Regions from separate parts of the Homo sapiens genome. Here region 2 is linked to region 1. The links are contacts of gene promoters, found by promoter capture Hi-C in human tissues and cell types (Jung and others, 2019). All regions are on one chromosome and are shown on one strand. The core of a region is centred on a gene start or on the middle of the fragment in contact, and the rest is flanking DNA. Distances in the headings are between cores, read along the strand shown. Region 1 holds the start of FAM83B (family with sequence similarity 83 member B). Region 2 has its middle 35 kb from the start of FAM83B.

What was found. Contacts are between HindIII fragments. The study calls those that stand out against the background at their distance.
Region 2: a fragment that was not itself captured here is called in contact with the fragment with the promoter of FAM83B in region 1 in 1 of the 25 tissues and cell types used here (aorta).

The regions. Positions count from the first base shown.
Region 1 is chr6:54,845,389-54,848,158 of GRCh38, forward strand. It overlaps FAM83B (family with sequence similarity 83 member B), which reads left to right and starts at 1,383. Exons shown (of 5, transcript NM_001010872.3): 1 at 1,383-1,438. The HindIII fragment of the contact is 13,561 bases long and covers 1-2,770 here.
Region 2 is chr6:54,810,787-54,813,556 of GRCh38, forward strand. No RefSeq gene overlaps it. Among named protein-coding and RNA genes, the nearest start is that of FAM83B, 35 kb to the right of the region's middle. The HindIII fragment of the contact is 4,827 bases long and covers 1-2,770 here.

The DNA.
Region 1 (2,770 bases), core at 133-2,632:
CTGAAAAAATATTAAAAAGTGAGATGTGAAAATTAGGAACAGAAGGAAAAAATAAATACATAAAACAAGACAATTCTCTACATTCTTTTGAAGAAATGAAACTACAAACCAGACACCAAGATCTGGAAGATTAGCTTTGTACTAATCCTGGAATTTGCTTTTACTTTCCTGTCTTTGGCCTTTGCTCTGATGTTTCAGTATCTAGACTAATGCGAATTTCATTCTTCAGTTTAAATCAGCACGTCAGTCAGGGATTCATCCAAACCTTAATGGCTTAGCATTTTCCTCAACTGTTTTATTTGGAGCAAAATCGCCACGAAAGTCATTTTTAAGGGTCAATTCAATTTTATGATAATTTATATATTATGCCAGACGCTTAAAATATGCCTATTACTACCCTAAATTCCATTCTTACAGTACTAGGCTGCATTTTAGACATTTGCTGCAAATGACTTTATCTTGAAGTCTACGTGATTACACAAATTATTATAAATACTCATGACAGATTTACTGAGGTGTAGGCAAGGAAATTAAAAAATAAATTTTATTAATTACTGTATTTTATGTTTAAATTATAGTGTCTCCACTTCCGTAACATTGCTCCGCAGTATCCCACCTAGAGGGACCTGCTTTCACGCACATCTCCCTATTTTAAACAATATCCTTTCATCCCAAATCTGTAACTAGGACAGTTGAGAGTCAGTACCAAAATCTTTGATGATATTTGAAATTCTTTTACATAAAAAAGTAAAGGCACAAGCACTTTTTCTTCTACTTTTCCACTCCCCACGTCCTCTCCAAGCCTAAAGACTCTTAGGCACTGAGAAGGAGTCTGCACTGCGGGATGCCCACTGGAATTACCTACTGTGGGCTGAATCCGCCCCACACTCTCGAAGGTGCTACAACCCTTGCTCTCACCCGCGGCCCCCAGGCCTCTCCTCCAGGCATTCTTGAGCCCAGGGAAAAGCGAGGACGGGACCACGGCCCCGCTCGGCCTAGATCCGCCTTCTTCCCAGGTGAGCGTCGCTGTCCTCCGGGATCGCTCCTCGCCCCAGACCAGGAGCAGGGTGTCGGGACTTGTAATTGCCCCGTAGCCCCGAGGGCGGGCAGGAAAGAAAGGCTTTTTCATACTCCGCTGGGAGAGAGCAGGGTGTTTGAGTTCAGACAGGTTCCGAGCGCTTTCTGGCTGTTCGGGGTTTGGCGTGCCACCACTTGGGACTTGTTGTAACCCGTCTCCACTCCCGCCCCCTCCAGCGCTGCACCTTGTCTCGGGGAGGCGCGGTTCGAGCCGGAATCAGCCTCCCTCCGCGGACCTGACGCTGGGCAGGTAACTCCCCTCCCCTCCCTGCCCGCGCCCAGGCGCTTGCTGCTTCCTGGGAGGCAAACCTTCGGCGGCCGGCGCTGTGCGGCGGGCGCGGTTGCGCGCGGCTTGGGGCAAGTAAGTGGGGTTTGGGCTCCCTTGCCCCGGACCTCGGCGGACGGGACCCCAGCGGGTGCAGGGTTGAGGTGCTTGGGGTACTGGGGGGGCCCGGGGCTTCACCCGCCCCTGGCCGGCGCGGCGGACGGGAGGGATAGGGGACTCTCCCTTGGGAGCGCAGGCGGGATTGGAAATTCCACAGGGTGTAAAGCTCAGTTGCTTCAGTCTTTTCTACGTTTCTTTCATTGTCGTGGGGGTTCGAGTGAGTTGAGAAGTTTGAAAAGTTGTCTCGGGCGGAGTCGGTTTGGGTCCCCAGAGGACTGGCGCCGCCCCTCGTGGAGGCTGCATTTGTTTCCTCTTTTCCAGTGTAGGAGTGCGCCGAGGACCCCGGGAGGGGAAGCGGGAGGAGAGACCGCTGGGAAAAGTCTCGTGGGAGGAAGTCCAGGGTGGAAGCAGAGGGCATGGGGGTGGGGGGTTCCGGGAAAAGGTGGGAGAGCTTAGGTCGCTGAGGGGCGTGGGTGTTCTTTAGATCCTGAGTGGGGAGCAGAACTTGAAAAGACAGTTTTTTCACACAACCTCTTAATTGTACAGGATCCCGTTTCTGAGTGCAGACTGGTAGCGACCTGTGTTTTTCATACTTGGGTCGGCCTGAGTCTGGGTCTGTGTGCCCTAGCAGCTCTCCAGGAGAGCCTGTACCTACCAAAGTTTGAGAACCACTGCTCTAGATCCTGGTGAGTGATCTAGAAGAGGAGAGTAGGCCTAGAGCAGATTGCTCCTGGAACGGGACTTGGAGACTTTTGGCCTATTCTGTGTGATATGTGGGGAGACTTACCTGTGTAAGGTTAATGGACAGGCAGAGAATGCCTGTGTTCATTGCAGGAGTCATAGGTATGTAAAGAGACAACAGCGCTTTCTTTATAGGAGGAGGCTGGGAGGTTATGGAAACACAGGTTAGCATGTTGTCTATGCTCGGAGCGGTGAAGTTATAGGGTCTCTCTGACCTAGAAGTGGAAATGAGAGCTCAGGCGGCCAGAACACTTAAGAAGAAGGTGTGCGGGTGGCAAGCAATTGAGGCTAGAATTTAATGCTCAACAGCTTATGTCCAAATTCCCAGTTACAAACATCTTGCTAGGTTACTGGCAGGCACCTCCCTTCTTTCCCTTTCTCATCCTAACAAGTGCAAGAGCCCCGAGGAAATCCATGACTGAGGCTGAATCATTGCTGACAAGCAACAGGAAGGGAGAGAGTGATGAAAGAGACTTAGAAGAGAAAACTGGGGTTTTTTGTTTTTTATTGGAGTGGGGGTGGGGGTGGCGGTGGGAGGCTCAAAATGATTGGAGAATGAGAATAATG
Region 2 (2,770 bases), core at 150-2,649, 35 kb before region 1:
GGGTCTCACTCTGTTACCCAGGCTGGAGTGCATAGTGCAATCTCAGCTCACTGCAGCCTCCTCCCCTCGGGTTCAAACGATTCTCATGCCTCAGCCTCCCCAGTAGCTGGGATTACACGTGGGCACCACCACAGCTGGCTAATTTTTGTATTTTTAGTAGAGATGGGGTTTCACCATTTTGGCCAGGCTGGTCTCGATCTCAGATGATCCACCCACCTCAGCCTCCTGAAGTGTTGGGATTACAGGCATGAGCCACCGTGCCCAGCAGGATTTCCTTTTTTAAGGCTGAGTAACATTCTATTGTATGTCTGTGTCATACTTTATTTATTTATCCATCAATGAACATTTAAATTGTTTCCACATCTTATCTATTGTGAATAATGCTACAATAAACATGGGAGTGCAAATATCTCTTTGAGATCTTGATTTCACTTCTTTTTGATAAATAGCTAGAATGGGATTACTGGATTATATGATATTTTTACTTTTAATTTTTTGAGGAACCTCTGTAGCAACTGTACTATTTTTCATTCCCACAGATAGTGGAAACAGGTTCCAATTTCTGCATGCCTCTCCAACAGTCATTACCATTTTTTTTTTACCATAGCTATCCTACAGGTATGAAGTGATATTTTGTTGTGATTAAGATTTCCATTTTTATAATAATTAGTAATTTTTAGCATCTTTTCATACACCTATTGGCCATTTGTATGTCTTCTCTGGAGAAATGTCTATTCAAGTCCTTTGCCCATTGTCTTAATCAGGTTATTTGCATTTGTGGGTGTGTGTGAGAGAGTCTGTGTGTTTTGTTTTTGTTTTTTGTTTTTATTTTTGTTCTGCTATTAAGTTGAAGGAATTTCTTATTTATTTTGAATATTAACCCCTTATCAGATATGCAGTTTGCAAGTATTTTCTCCCATTCCATAGACTGCCTCTTCATGTGGTTGATTCGTTCCTTTGTTGTGCAGAAGCTTTTTAGTTTGATGTAGTCGTACTTGTTCCTTTTTTTCTGTTGCTTGTGCTTTTGATGTCATATCCAAAAAAGTATTTCCAAAACCAATCTCATGAAGTGTTTCCCCTATGTTTATTTCTAGTAGTTTTACAGCTTCACATTTTCTGACTAAGCCTTTAATCCATTTCCAGTTGATTTTTAAAAGATAGGGGTTCAATTTTATTATTTTGCAATTGGGTGGCCAGTTTTCTTAATACCATTTGTTGAAGATACCAGCCTTTCCCCATGTGTATTCTTGGCACCTTTGTTGAAGATCAATTGATCTTCATGTATAAGTGTATTTCTAGGCTGTCTATTCTGTTCAATTGGTCTATATGTCTATCTTTATGCCTGTACTATATTATTTTAATTACTGTAACTTTAAAATATTTTGAAGTTATAAATAATAATACCTGCAACTTTGTTCTTTTTTCTCAATATTGATTTGGCTATTTGTAGTCTTTCTGGTTCCCTATGAATCTTAGGATTCCTTTTTTTTCCTATCTCTGTAAAACAAATTCCATTGGAATTTTAATAGGATTACACTGAATCTGTAAACCACTTTGGGTAGTACAGATATTCTAACAATATATTAAGTCTTCTAATCCATGAACATGGGATGACTTTCCATTTATTTCTTTGTACTATAATTTTATCCATCAATATTTTCTAGTTTTCAGTGTAGAAGTTTCTCACCTTCTTAGTTTATTTCTATTTTTCTTCTTGATGCTATTGTAAATAATTTTTTAAAAAAAATTTATTCTCAGATAATTTGTTCTTAGTGTATGGAATTACAACTGATTTTTTTGTATGTTGATTTGTATCCTTCAATTTTATTGAATTTGTTTATTAGTTTGAATATTTTGTGTTTGTGTGTGTGTGTGGAGTCTTTGTGATTTTCTACATATAAGATCCTGTCACTTGCAAACAGAGATAATTTTACTTATTCTTTTCTGATTTGGATGCCTCTTAACTTTTTTTTTTTTTTTTGCCTAATTTACCAAACTGAATTCAATAGCACATTAAAGGGAGCATACACTAAGTCCTAGTGGCATTTGTTCCTGGAATGCAAAGATGGTTCAACATCTACAAATCAATTAGTGTGACATAACACATTAACAGAATGAAGGATATAAATGACATGATCATCTCAACACATGAAGAGAAGGCATTTGACAAAACTCAACACCATTTCATGACAAGACTCAACAAATTAGAAAAATAGAAGAAAATAAACTTAACATAATAAAGGCCATATAAAAATGTCCAAATAAAAAGGCCATATATTAAAAGTCCACATAAAAGGCCATATATAATAAATTTCATCATTGTCAATATGAAAAACAGAGCTTTATCCTCTATGATGAAGAACAAGGCAAGGGTGCCCACTCTTGCCACTTCTATTTAACATTAATACTGGAGGTCTTAGCCAGAACAACTAGACAAGAAAAAGAAATAAAATTGAAATTGCTTTTGTATTCTGAGTATGCTATGGTGGAGCAAATGACAACTACTACACTAACAATATTGCCATATCATTAATAATTTAGAATATTTCTATTTAATTTTCTTGCCCAATAATGGATGAAGCTTTATTTAAAATATAGTGCCCAGTGAGTTTGATATATAAAACAGATAATTAAATTGTGGTACAGAATTTTTAGCTATTCAGTTTGAAAATAAATATTACACTATTGGTTTTCTTAAACGCATTGGAATAACATCCCTGATATTTTAGTTTTACAGGTTAGAAGTATATTAATCAAGGTCAGGTTGTAT